2 separate regions of the Homo sapiens genome follow, and region 1 is linked to region 2. The links are contacts of gene promoters, found by promoter capture Hi-C in blood cells and fetal thymus (Javierre and others, 2016). All regions are on one chromosome and are shown on one strand. Each heading gives the region's core, a stretch centred on a gene start or on the middle of the fragment in contact. The rest is flanking DNA. Distances are from core to core; before and after follow the strand shown. Region 1 has its middle 15 kb from the start of BSDC1. Region 2 holds the start of FAM167B (family with sequence similarity 167 member B).

Region 1 (6,836 bases), core at 697-3,196, 160 kb before region 2:
GGGGCTGCTTTTCATTAAAAAGAGAAGACTTACCAAGGACTCCCATCCCCTTACTATCTGCCTAAGTAATTTCTTCTTAACTCCTGTATCAACAGTTACCCATCAAATACAAAGGAGGAAGGGTTACCAGTAAGCAACAGGGTTGACATGAAAACAGAGTGGTGAGACCTACAGAAATCTTTGGAAACAACTGCTTATGAACGGCCTACCAAGTTCCCACTTTTTTATTTTTTTTGAGACAGGGTCTCACTCTGTCACCTAGGCGGGAATGCAGTGGTGCAATCATGGCTCACTCATTACAGCCTCAACCTCCCGAGCTCAAGTGATCCTCCCATATCAGCCTCCCAAGTAGTTGGGACTACAGGCACGCACCATCATCCCTGGCAAATTTTTGTACTTTTTGTAGAGATGGGATTTCACTGTGTTGCCCAAGCTGGTCTCGAGCTCCTGGGCTCAAGCAATCCACTCACCTCAGCCTCCCAAAGTGCTGAGATTACAGGCATGAGCCACCGTGCCCAACTCCCACTTAATGTTTTCTTTTGTTTTTTGAGTCAGAGTCTTGCTCTGTCACCCAGGCTTGAGTGCAGTGGTGCAATCTTGGCTCACTGCAACCTCCATCTCCTGGGATCAGGCGATTCTCCTGCCTCAGCCTCCCGAGTAACTGGCATTACAGTCATGTGCCAACACACCTGGCTAATTTTTTGTATTTTTGGTAGAGATGGGGTTTCACCTTGTTGGCCAGGCTGGTCTTGAACTCCTGACCTCAAGCGATCCACCTGCCTTGGCTTCCCAAAGTGCTAGGATTACAGGCATGAGCCACCACACATGGCCTCCCACTTAGTTTTTATATCAAGACAAACAACAAAAATACCTCCTTGTCCAGTAAACAGAGGTCTATTTTGACACAATAGACAGTTTTCATCTTTCACGCAATTCCCATACATGAATCAATTCACAGGTGCACAGACCATTGATTAAAGGAAGAGTATAGGATGCTTAAGGAAAGATCCAGCAACAGCAACACAAGTTCATACTATGAACATTTTTTCCTGTTCTTTCCCAACGGATAAATACACAAACCTCTTGGGGACAATCAGACAACTAACCACAGATTCCTGGAGACCCACAATGCCTCTGGGCTTCAGCAGTCAGAGTATGGGCTTATGGAAATGTATGATTAAGTGTTGATAAGAAAAACAGAGAACATTCAACATATTTCAAGCAGAAATGTATATAATGCAGGGACTTGCTTACAAAGATGTTGGAAATGCCAAAGGAGCTAAGAGTAAAATGTGACATTTTCCAGAGCCCAGGAAACCACCCTGGGGGTGAAGCCAACAACCCCACTTTCACTACTGACAGTGCTGGAAGAGCCACCACTGCTAAAGGTAAGTCACCTCCTAAAGCCTAAGAATTTCTCCCTTCTTCTCACCTTCAAATATAACCAAGCACCTCCCATTGGCACAATGTAACTGGGACCCAGCTAGCAGTGGAGTCTGGGAAGTGTTGTTGGCTGGTGTCTAGCTCTGGCAGTACAGGGCAGATGGCAGATGGTCAACTGAGAGGCTAAGTACCAAGAGACAACAGGAGGCATGGGGATTTAGGTGACAAATGGAGTTTTGACCAAAGTCCACTTTAGGGTGGATCTAGTCCCCAAAACTGATAGTTTTGTCCTTGTTTGTATAACTGTAAGGAATTTCCTAAAATACTGGCAGAAACCTGCATTAGCCTACTGACCATAGGTTAATAGCTTTTATTATAAGAATAGGTTATTATATAACTTAACATAGGTTAAATAGAATAGGTTTATTATAAGAATAGGTTAATAGCTTTTATTATAAGAAGAACAGGCTGGGCGTGGTGGCTCATGCCTGTAATCTTAGCACTTTGGGAGGCTGAAGCAGGCAGATCACCTGGGGTCAGGAGTTCGAGACCAGCCTGGCCAACATGGGGCAACCCCATCTCTACTAAAAATACAAATATTAGCCAAGTGGCAGGTGCCCGTAATCCAAGCTACTCGGGAGGCTGAGGCAGGAGAATTGCTTGAACCCAGGGGCAGAGATTGCAGTGAGCTGAGATCACACCACTGTACTTCAGCCTGAGTGAGAGAGTGAAACTCTGCCTCTAAATAAATAAATAAAACAAGCTGGATGTAGTGGCTCATGCCTGTAAACTCTCAACACTTTAAGAGGCTGAGGCTGGCAGATCGCTTGAGGCCAGGAATTTGAAACCAGCATGGGCAGCATGGTAAAACCCTGTCTCTACTAAAAATACAAAAATTAGCTGGGCATGGTGGTGCACGCCTGTAATCCCAGCTACTCAGGAGGCCGAAGCAGGGGAATTGCTTGAACCTGGGAGGCAGAGGTTGCAGTAAGCTGAGATCATGCCACTGCACTCCAGCCTGGGTGACAGAGTGAGACTCTATCTCAAAAAAGAAAAACAAAGTAGAACTCATCAAAGTTTTTCATTCCCACCAAAATGTAAATTAAAATAAAAAATTCTGGTATGCTGAGAGCAACTAAAAGAATTTTTTAAATAAAAATAAAATAAAAAATCCTGAAAGCATTGCAAAGTTTAATGCCACCATCAAAGACCTCAGATATGCAGAGGCGGTGACTTCTGTCACATCCATATCCATGTCTTCAGTTTAGATAAAGAGACAGATGGTCTTCAAGAAGGTGGAGGAATATTGAAAACTGAATCAAATGGCAGCCTCAGTTGCCACTGCTATTTCAGATGTGGCTTTTGGGGGAGTACATCAGTACGACTCCCAGAATTTGATCAAGCAAATGCATTTTTCTCCAATATAACAGAGGATATAAGAAGCAATTTGTGGCCAGGCATGGTGCCTCATGCTTGTAATCCCAGCACTTTGGGAGGCTAAGGCAGGTGGATCATTTGAGGCCAGTAGTTCGAGACCAGCCTGGCCAACATGGTGAAACCTTGTTTCTACTAAAAATACAAAAAATTAGCCAGGCATGGTGGCGGGTGCCTGTAATCCCATCTACTTGGGAGGCTGAGGCAGGGGAATTGCTTGAACCCTGGAGGTGGAGGTTGCAGTGAGCCAAGATCGCGCCATTGCACTCCAGCCTGAATGACAGACCGAAACTCCATCTCAATGGAAAAAAAAAAAAAAAAAAGAAGCAGCAGCAATTTGCTTTATGGCCAGGCATGGTGGCTCACACCTGTAATCCTAGCACTTTGGGAGGCTGAGGCTGGCAGAAGTTTCAGTGAGCCAAGATCATGTGTGCCACTCCACTCCAGCTTGGGTGACAGAGTGAGACTCCCTCTCAAAAAAAAAAAAAAAAAAGCAATTTGCTTTATAATCTTTACTCAAAGAAAATCCAACACTTCTGCTCTGTGCCCCAATTTGGTCTGTAGAAATTTTGGCTCTGCCATCATCTGTATCAGTCAGTTCAGTGCAGAAAACAAACAACTCAATGTATTCAAAACAGGCGTTTCCTGCCAGCAGCCACTTCTGCAGAAAGGTGACTTCTGCCTCATGTCTGCTTTCCCAAATCTCACATGGATGTGCCTACTTGAAGGAACCTAGTTCACAAGCAGAACCTTAGCTGCAAGGGACTCTGGGAAATGTGGTATTTCACTTTACAATGCATCCAATAGAAGGAGGGTGGCATAGAGGTCAAGAGTCAGTCCAAGTATTTGTCATTCCATCCTACAGGCTGTCATGCTGTTCCACTATTTTGGTGGCATCGTGCTGACAGAACCCCAAAAGTAGAAAACATTGGGTATAAAAGGGTGGGAGATAAATCCAACAAAAATATAGCAGCCTGCCATTTCATTAAAATTTTGGAAGTCACACAGTCTGAGACACACCAGGACATTCCCTCCAGAGCAAAGGACAGGTTGCTGCACTTTAGTCTTCCTTCCTCTAAGAAGGAACCCCAGTGCTTGATAGGTCTCTTTGGATTTTGCGGGCAACATACAAACATTACTAGGTACACTACTTCTTTTTTTTTTTTTAATAATTTTTTTACTTTTATTTTTAGCAAAGACATGGTTTTGCCATGTTGGCCAGGCTGGTCTTGAACTCTTGGCCTCAAGCAATCAGCCCGCCGTGGCTTCCCAAAGTGCTGGAATTATAGGCATGAGCCACCGCACCCAGCCAACTCCTTCTAACTATTTGCCAGTCTCCAGGTTTGAGTAAGGCACAGAGTTAGAGAGGATGCCTCTCCAACTGGTCCAGGCTCAGCAATTTGGCCCTGACAGCTGAACAGATCCACAGTCAAAGTGTCTGAGGGAAGGCCAGGTGCGGTGGCTTACACCTGTAATCCCAGCACTTTAGGAGGCCGAGGCAGATGGATCACCTGAGGTCAGGAATTCAAGACCAGCCTGACCAAGATGGAGAAACCCCATCTCTATTAAAAATACAAAATTAGCTGGGCATGGTGGCGGGTGCCTGTAATCCCAGCTACTCAGGGGGCTGAGGCAGGAGAATTGCTTGAACCTGGGAGGCGGAAGGTGCAGTGAGCCGAGATCGTGCCATTGCACTCCAGCCTGGGCAACTAAGAGTGAAACTCTGCCTCAAAAAAAAAAAAAAAGCGTCTGAGGGAAATGATGCCATACTGAGCCTATTGCAAACATTGGTAGAGGGATCACCATAGAGGCCCTCAAAGTTTGGAGGCAAAGCTGTTAGCCGTTCCTCATTCATACTGAGTATTTTTCTTTTGAGAAATAGCTCCTGAGTTTTAGTAGTAGTAGCTACTCGTAGCTAGTAGCTACTTTTTTTTTTTTAAAGAACATGAACCAAAGTTTTATTTGTTCATTATCGCATTTGAAGTACTCTTCGATGACATCCTTGCCCTAGTAGTAGCTACTAGGATTTTCCTAATAGTTCTAGTAGGCTGAATGCTTGACCATAGAGCACTAGGTGACGTTGCAACCTGAGCTGCCCATCATGAATTGGGTGTTTTCTGATCGCCAATACTCAGTAATTCTCAAGTGAAAGTGGCCCATAGAGAATGTGGCCTAAACAGCCCTGAAGGTGCAATGAGCAGGCTGTTCTTACTCCCAGTACCCATTCCTGCACACTGCTCCAGAGACTCCAACCCAGGCGACATGGGAGGAAACGAGTGTGAACTGTTATGCATGGCTCTGTACAATGTGCTGGTATGAGCCAGAAATGGACTGTCATGGCCTGAGCAAGGTCACTCTGAAGGATAGCAGAGAAAGGAACTCTTCTTGGTGGCAGTTGGAGCAAGGCATGTGGTTTTCCACTGTCTCGAGGCAGAGATGTCTTGAAATCAGAATCAACATTGAATCACAGGCCATGGTTACTGAAGGAAGCAAGATGAGAGAATAAAAAGTTTAGGAGAGGATGGGCACGGTGGCTCATGCCTGTAATCCCAGCATTTTGGGAGGCCGAGGCAGGCAGATCACTTGAGGTCAGGAATTCTAGACCAGCCTGGCCAACATGGCGAAACCTTTGTGTCTACCAAAAAACACAAAAATTAGCCAGGCTTGGTGGTCACGCCTGTAATTCCAGCTACTCAGGATGTGGGAGCACAAAAATCACTTGAACCTGGGAGGTGGAGGTTGCAGTGAGCAGAGATGACACCTCTGCACTCCAGCCTGGGCAACAGAGTGAGATCCTGTCTCAACAACAACAAAAAAAGTTTGGGAGAGAGAAACAAGGATAGACCCGCTGAAATAGACCCAGCCATTAGAATATTCATGACTATGTAAATGATTGTGACAAGGCTCCACTGTAAAGAAAAAATTATATGAGAGCCTGGTTTTCAGATGGCAGATTCTGAAAGAGCAAGAAACAGTTTTATGAAAATGGTTATATGGCCCCAAAGGATGCTGGAGAAGGAAATTCCTCAATAGGCAGAACTGTAAGCAGTGCATTTCATTGTCCACTTTGCCTGGTAGGAAAAATGGCCTGAGGTCAGGATCTATACCAGTTCACGAGCCAATGACAAATAGTGTGAGTAGCTCAGCATCTTAAAAGATTGCAAGTTAATGACAAAGAGGTTTGGGAAAGGTGGATTTCCTGGAATGGTCACAGATCATGAGACAGCAGGTGTGCCAAATGATTGCTCACCATGGGCCCCCGCTGTGCAGGAAGCTTTCACTAATCAGCAGATCTGTTCTGTGGATATTAACTAGATGGCCTTTTCCACCAGCCAGTCCAGTTCTTGTTCAATGGGTTCATGGACAAAGGACGATAGTGACAGGAGTGGAAATTATGCATAGGCCCAAGAACAGGGACATCCCTGTCCAAGGCCGTCCTGGCAACCACCACTACTGACCTACTGATGCCCTGTTTGCCTACAGGAGCAAACAGTCCTGGACTCTTGATGTGATGTCATACCTTGAGGGAACAAACCAACTATCTGGTGGCAGATCAATTACATAGGACCATGTCCCTTGTGAAGAAGGAACAATTTGTCTCACCGGTGACAGTGCTTACTCTGGGTTTGAATTTCCTTTCCCTGCTTCTCATTCTTCTCTCAGAACCTCCATCTATGGACTTAATACACAGTCTTAGTGTCCCACACAATATTGTTTCTGACCATGAAATTCACTTCACAAGAAAAGAAGTGAGAGTGAGCAGACACCAGAGGATTCACTAACCTGAGCTCCATCAGCCAGCCTTCTAGAGTGGTGGCAAAACCTACTGAAGGTCCAGGTAATCTACCAGCTGTTAGATAGCACCCTGTGAGATACAGCACTGTTAAAAGGATGCAGTATATGCTCTGAACCAGTGTACCATTTCTTCCTTAGCCAGATACATAGTTCAGAAACCAAGAGCTGTGTGTAGGAGTGGTTTCTTTCACACTTAGACTTTTTTTTTTTTTTGGAGACAGGGT
Region 2 (7,208 bases), core at 3,315-5,814:
TCAGCCATCACTCTCAGCCCTGCCACTGCCTTGCTGAGAAACCGTGGGCAGTGAGTGCCTTGTTCTCTCTGGGCCTCAGGAGCCTCATCCTCATGGCCTGAGGGACTGGGCTTGGTGGTTTCTGGAAGCCTTTTTAACACCTGACTGTCCATGTGCCTGGTGTCCAGGAAACACGCTCCCAGTCAGGTGGGGCCACTGGTGGACAGCACGACAGAGGCAAGCGACACCAGCTTCGCAGGAAAGAGGCGACCCAGCTACACTGCCTGCCTCCCACCTGACCTTGAGCGAGGATCTTCTCTCCCCAGCCACAAAGGGCTGCTGCATCCCTAGGGAGCCTGGGCCCGCACAGCTGCAGCCGTCTGCTATCAGGCCTCTCACCCCGGCGCCTGCGCCCCCAATACCAGCGCTCCTTACCTGCCCAGCCCGGGAGCCCTCTGGCCCCATTCACATGGTCCTCCTGGCCTAACCTGGCTGCCTGGACAGTCTCAGCTCCCTTCGCCGTCGTAGCCACCACCTGTCTCCCCGCGCCCACGTCCCACCCTGACTTCCTGCCTCCTCCGGAGGGCTCCGCAGCCAACCGGGCCCCAGCAGCCCAACCACAACCCTCTAGCACGCCAAGCTTCCTGCCACCATAGACCCCTGCCTCTCAGCCCCTGGGGGTCCCCTACATCTCCAGACCAGGTCCATCTTCCCCTACTGTCCCAGGGTGACACTGGGAGGTTTAAAGTTGAGGGGAGGATGTCTGATAGACCCTCCCTTCTGCCCTCCAGGGTGCATCTGGGCAAGAGATTCAAGGGCAGCCTTTGGGCCCAGTGAGCAGGGGGCAAGCGGACACACACTCAGCTTATGGTGAGAGGCAAACAGCACCTCAGCACCACCGTTGCAGCTGAGAGACCCTTTTGTTTCTGTCTGGCAGCAAAGGTAGCATCGTTCAGAGTCAGAGGAGAGGACAATATCCCTGTTAAATAGCTGGTGAGCAGACCATGCATGTTACAGTCAGGTCAGGCCGAGAGAACAATTCCCATGTCATCTCAGGGCATGGAACAGTAGCTTTATTATAGTCAAGGGTAGGTGAATGGCAGGCTACCATCCCTCTTACAGACAGAATGCTGGAAAACAGCCTGTTTCAGGAGGCAGACAGGACAACCTCATGTCTTCAAGAGGGCATAGTAACGGCCCCTGCTGTAGTCAGAGGCCAGGACAACACCCATTAATCATGGTTGGAGAGTAGGGCAACAGTTCGAATTCAGGTAGAGGCAAGGCCACAGCCCCTGGCAGAGGTGGAGGGCTTGGCACTATCTCCTGCAACAGGTGGAAGACAGAGCAAACAGGGCCGCTCAGGCCCCCAGGTGCAGGCCACAGACTGTCAGGACTTTCTGTTATAAGCAGGAGGCAAGAAGATTGTCACGAGCAGCAGGCAGGCAAAGAATTTCCATTTCCCCTGGGGCCAGGCTGAGGGGGCACCCATCATTAGCTGAGGGCCAGGTCACCAGTGATATGAGGAACTCCAGGTGGCCTCATCAGGTCCAAGAACTCGGCCTTGACCCCACCAGGAGGAAAGTGCACATGCGTCACTGCCTGAGTGAGCTGGTAGGGGGAGGGGAACCCACAGAGCATTGTTGGGGCTTGTGAGGTGGAAGCGATGCTGTGTGCACCTCAGCTGCAGAGAGAAGTGGGGGCAGGAAATAGGTGGGGGGAAGAGGAAGCCTGAGTTGGAAAGTCAGACAAAGAGGGTAACACAGAAACAAAGGCTGAGAGAGACAAAGTGAAAAACCTTCACAGTGACACAGAGCCTAGAGTTGGAGCTCCAAGCCTGGTGCAGGGCCCAGACTCCCTTGCAATGTAAGCCTGAACACTTCACGGTCCATCTCCCTGTCTCAGCACAGAGTAGAAAGACTGCCGCGCTGGGAGTGAGTAATAGTTCATATTCACTGAGCGCTCACTGTGCACTATCTCCCGTAAGGCACATCTGCTGCCTGTGGAGTGAGAATCAGCATCTCCATTGTGGAGGTGAGGAAACAGACTCAGGGGTTAAGGGAGCTCCTCAGGGTCGAATAGAAATAAACGGTGGCTCAGGCCTGTAATCCTAGCACTTTGGAAACCCCAGGCAGGTGGATCACTTGAGGTCAGGAGTTTGAGACCAGCCTGGCCAACATGCTGAAACCCTGTCTCTATTAAAAATACAAAAATTAGCCGGGCATGGTGGCGGGTGCCTATAATCCCAGCTACTCGGGAGGCTGAGGCAGGAGAATCGCTTGAAATCGGAAGGTGGAGGTTGCAGTGAGCCAAGATCGCGCCACTACTCCAGCCTGGGCGAAAGAGTGAAATTCCATCTCAAAAAAAAGAAAAAAAAAAGAAAAGAAAAGAAAGGAAATTAGCTAGGCGAGGTGGTGGCCACCTGTAATCCCAGCTACTTGGGAGGCTGAGGCAGGAGAATCGCTTGAAATCAGAAGGTGGAGGTTGCAGTGAGCCAAGATCGCGCCACTACTCCAGCCTGGGCGAAAGAGTGAAATTCCATCTCAAAAAAAAGAAAAAAAAAGAAAAGAAAAGAAAGGAAATTAGCCAGGCGAGGTGGTGGCCGCCTGTAATCCCAGCTACTTGGGAGGCTGAGGCAGGAGAATCGCTTGATCCCCGGAGGCGGAGGTTGCAGTGAGCTGAGATTGTGCTACTGCATTCCAGCCTGGGTGACAGAGTGAGACTCTGCCTCAAAAAAAAAAAAAAAAAAAGAAGCAGAAGAAATAACAACAACAAAAAGAAATAAACGGGGTAGCTGGCTTTGAACCCATGTCTCTCAGATTCTGCATTCTTCAGGAGCCCAATTTACCTAAGTCACCTCCCATGGGCCTGCAGTGAACTAGGGTGGTCCCAGTGACAGGCGACATTCAGATAGCGGCCTTGGGCCTGAATAAACGACTGCAAGAGACCTTGATGGGAACCAGAGAAAGCGTTTATTGAGGAGTTTGAGGGTGTGAGCTCCTCCTCCTCCCCCTCCCAGCTGGGTCAGCAGAGGAAACAGGATGCTGGGGTTTTGCACTCTTGGAATTCAGCTCTCAGAAACCTGAATGTTCCTCCTCCCCCGCCAGGAGCTGGTGCCTCTGGGGCACCCCTCCCTTTCCTCTTCCCAGGCAGGCAGGGGAAGCGGCATTGGGAGAGGGGGCGGGGAGTCGGGGGGCACAGGTGTTCCTCAGCAGAGGGTGAAGCGCCGGGCGCTGATGTTCATGCGCGTGAGGCCCAGGTGCCGCAGCAGCGGGGCCAGGGCTAGGCCGGCCCCGGGCTCCAGCTCCAGCTCCAGCTCGGCCTCATCCAGCAGCTCCTGGTGCAGGTGACAGGCTTGGTCCATCTTCAGTCGGTGCAGCTGGGCCCGCAGCCGCAGCAGCTGCCCTGCCAGCTGCCTGTCCTGCGCCTGCATCTCCCGCTGCGGCCGAGAGGGGGCGTGAGCCTACTGGACAGGCCCTCGGCCGCGCGCCGTTTCTCCCTTCCTGGCAACGCTGGGCCTTTGCACTGACTGTGTCCTCCCCAGCCCCCTCTCACCTCAGCTTGATCTCTCCCTATCTCCCAATCTGGCTTCACCTGGTGGTTCTCAAACCCAGCTAAGGAGTCATTATTAAGCAAATCCAACTGCCTGGGCCCCATCCCAAATCAACTAAGCAGAATCTCTGTGTTGGAGCCTGGGTATCTTTATATTTGCACATGTTGAGTTGGGAGCCACCTACTGAAACTTCACCTCTTCAGAATCTGCCTGCAGCATGGCCAGTGCCTCCTTTTGCACTTCGCTGTATCTTTAGGCCATAGAAAGTCCCAGAGTAGGGGAGGCTGTGTATTTCCCTATTTATAATGGTGCCCCACACCCCCCAACACCAGTGCTCTGTCCCCTAAGCAACAGGAGCACAAGGTCAGTAGATTGGATGGAATCCTTCTTCAGCAAGCCTCCCTGAATACAACACTGGACAAGTCCATTCCCGGCTCCTCAGCCCAGGACACCGGAGCGGGCGGTTGCTGGAGGCAGGGTCCATTCTCATCCCTTCCCCATGCCTGTGGTCTTGGACCCTAAGGAGGACCAGCCTGAAGGCCCTGGGCAAAGCTGCCCACCCCACCAGACTCACCAGCTCCCGTCGGAGCCACTCAAGGGCGGAGTCCATTGAGTCGAAACCACAGATGTCCCCAGGTCCCCCTGGTCCAGGTTTGGCTTGGGCCCTGCGCCAGGCCTGGCTCTGGACCTGGGCTGTCCACTCCAGATATGAGGGCCGCCGAGTCTGCAGCTGCAGCTTGGCTGTCAGTGCCTTCACAGAGTCCAGGCTCTCCCCCTCCTCATCCTCCTCGTCCTCTTCACCCACTGCCTGGAATTTCAGTAGCCCCAGGGACATGGCAGGTTTGAGGTGAGTGACAGGGCAGGGCTGCAGCTCTGAGATTAGGGAAAGGCTGGCAGTATTGCCCAGGGAGAGGTGGCAGAAGTTGAGGGTGAGAAGAGCGTGCCAGGGAGTGTGTGGTGGTCAATGTTCAAGGTGGGTTAGGGGGGCTGAATGTGCCAGGGTGAGTGAGCAGATGGGTGTGTGAGGCCAAGTATGCAAGGGCTGGAATTTTCCTGGACTGCTAACTTGGGAGCCACGTGATGCCCATCTGGGTGGGGGCCGGAGGAACCCTGCTCCTCTGGCCCTTTGGATGAATTTTATTGTCTTTGCCCAGAAGGAGACACCCAATTCCCAGAAAGGAAGTTGCTCCAGGATGAGAAAAGCATCATTCATACCAGAGTCTTGGCCCTCCTCCCAAGACTCATGTTAAGGGAGCTGAGATCAGGAAGGAGGCTGCCTAGCCACCCCTTGTCCTTACTCGTGACACCAGCCCTTCAGGAAAGGACTAGCCTCCAGGGCCCTGGCCTGGGAGTCAGGAGACCTGAGTTCTAGTGCTGGCTCTGCAGAACCTTGGGCAAGTCACTGACCTTCTCAGAGCTCTGTTGGGACAGATGAAGGATTTCAAGCTAATACTCTAAGGAGCCCTCAAGGGCTGCCTGCAGGAGAAGGACAGAGCTGTGGATGGGCTCCTTGCCTTCCATCTCCCTGCCCCTCCCAGGGCTTCAACCAGAGCAGTTCCCTTTTTTAAACTTTGTTTTCAAACATAACATACACACAGAAGGACAGGTGCAGTGGCTCACGCCTGTAATCCCTGCACTTTGGGAAGCCGAGGTGGGCGGATCACGAAGTCAGGAGTTTAAGACCATCCTGGCTAACACGGTGAAACCCCGTCTCTACTAAAAATACAAAAAATTAGCCGAGTGTGGTAGCATGCATCTGTAGTCCCAGCTACTTGGGAGGCTGAGGCAAGAGAATCGCTTGAACCCGGGAGGCAGAGGTTGCAGTGAGCCGAGATCGAGCCATTGCATTCCAGCCTGGGTGACAAAGCAAGACTCTGTCAAAAGAAAGAAAGAAGGAAAGAGAGAGAGAGAGAGAGAGAAGGGAGGGAGGGAGGAAGGAAGGAAGGAAGGAAGGAAGGGGAAAGAAGTGTAACATACACACAGAAAAACTGTACATATCATAAATGCATGGAGACACGGTGGCTCACGCCTGTAATCCCAACATTTTGGGAGGCTGAGGCGGGCAGATCACCTGAGGTCAGGAGTTTAAGACCAGCCTGGCCAACATGGTGAAACCCTATCTCTACTAAAAATACAAAATGAGCTGGGCGTGGTGGTGCATGCCTGTAATCCCAGCTACCCAGGAGGATGAGGCAGGAGAATCACTGGAGCCTGGAGGCGGAGGTTGCAGTGAGCCAAGATCACACCACTGCACTCTAGCCTGGGCAAAAAGAGCGAAACTCCATCTCAAAAAATAAGTAAATAAGTAAATAAATGAATGTATGGCTCGATGAATTCTCCCAAACTGAACACATCCATGTAACCAGCACCCAGATCAAGCAACAGAGTATTACCAGCACCCAGGAACCGCTGTTAGCCTCCCATGTGCTCCTGGCCTGTCACTAATCTAAGGGTAACACCACCCTCATTCTAACAGCATAGTTTTCTCTGTTTATATGCCTTCTAGTGGTTCACAAACTTTAGCATGCATCAGAATCACCTAGAAAGCTTGCTAAGATGGCTAGGCCCCACCACCCAGAGTTTCAGATTCAGTATGTATGGGGTGGGGCCTGGTAATCTGCATTTCTACCAAATTCCCATCCCAGCTGCTGCTGCTGGTCTGGAATTTTACAATTTATGCTTTTTTTTTTTTTCGAGACAGGGTCTTGCTTTGTTGCCAGGCTGGAGTGCAGTGGTGGGATTACAGCTCACTGCAACCTTGAACTCTTGGACTCAGGTGATTCTCTTGCTTGACCTCCTCAGTAGCTGGGACTTACAGGGCCAAGACCCCACACCCAGCTAATTTTTTTTTTTTTTAAGTTTTTGATAGAGATGAGGTCTTCCTCTGTTGCTCATAATGGTTTTGAACTCAGCCAGGCGCGGTGGTTCACGCCTGTAATCCCAGCACTTTGGGAGGCCAAGGTGGGTGGATCACGAGGTCAGGAGATCGAGACCATCCTGGCTAACATGGTGAAACCCCATCTCTACTAAAAAAATACAAAAAAATTAGCTGGGCATGGTGGCAGGCACCTGTAGTCCCAGCTACTTGGGAGGCTGAGGCAGGAGAATGGCGTGAACCCGGGAGGCGGAGCTTGCAGTGAGCCGAGATTGCGCCACTGCACTCCAGCCTGGGCAACAGAGTGAGACTCCGTCTCGCCGGGCGCGGTGGCTCACGCCTGTAATCCCAGCACTTTGGGAGGCCGAGGCGGGCGGATCACGAGGTCAGGAGATCGAGACTCCGTCTCAAAAAAATAAATAAATAAATAACAGGATTGAAAGAGGATGAGAAAGAAAAAAAAATTAGGGCATGGTGGCACATGCCTGTGCCCAACTACCTGGGAGACTGAGATGGAAGGATTGCTTGAGCCCAGAAGGGCAAAGCTGCTGCAGTGAGCCCTGATCACATCACTACACTCCAGGCCTGGGTGACAGAGGCCGACCTGTCTCAAAATAAAAAATTAAAAAAAGGCTTCTGTATCTATGAAGTACCATTGTTTTATTCCTTTATTCTTTTTTTCTTTTCTTCTCTTTTTTTTTTTTTTTTTTTTTTGAGAGAAGTCTCACTCATCCCCCAGGTTTGAGTGCAATGGCTCAATCTCGGCTCATTGCAACCTCCGCCTCCCGGGTTCAAAAGATTCTC

The links. Contacts are between HindIII fragments. The CHiCAGO score rates a contact against its expected background, and 5 or more counts as called.
Region 1: a fragment that was not itself captured here is called in contact with the fragment with the promoter of FAM167B in region 2 in 2 of 17 cell types (total CD8 T cells and naive CD8 T cells); the score reaches 5.7 in total CD8 T cells.

What each region holds. Positions count from the first base shown.
Region 1 is chr1:32,406,173-32,413,008 of GRCh38, reverse strand. No RefSeq gene overlaps it. Among named protein-coding and RNA genes, the nearest start is that of BSDC1, 15 kb to the right of the region's middle. RefSeq lists an enhancer at 6,804-6,836. The HindIII fragment of the contact is 8,294 bases long and covers 1-6,093 here.
Region 2 is chr1:32,244,578-32,251,785 of GRCh38, reverse strand. FAM167B (family with sequence similarity 167 member B) reads right to left here and starts at 4,564. Exons shown (of 2, transcript NM_032648.3): 1 at 4,104-4,564; 2 at 2,930-3,415. The coding sequence starts at 4,364. The coding sequence ends at 3,185. LCK (LCK proto-oncogene, Src family tyrosine kinase) reads right to left here and starts at 521. Exons shown (of 13, transcript NM_005356.5): 1 at 415-521. RefSeq lists enhancers at 1,169-1,258, 1,309-1,518, 1,709-1,918, 3,147-3,306. The HindIII fragment of the contact is 5,457 bases long and covers 622-6,078 here.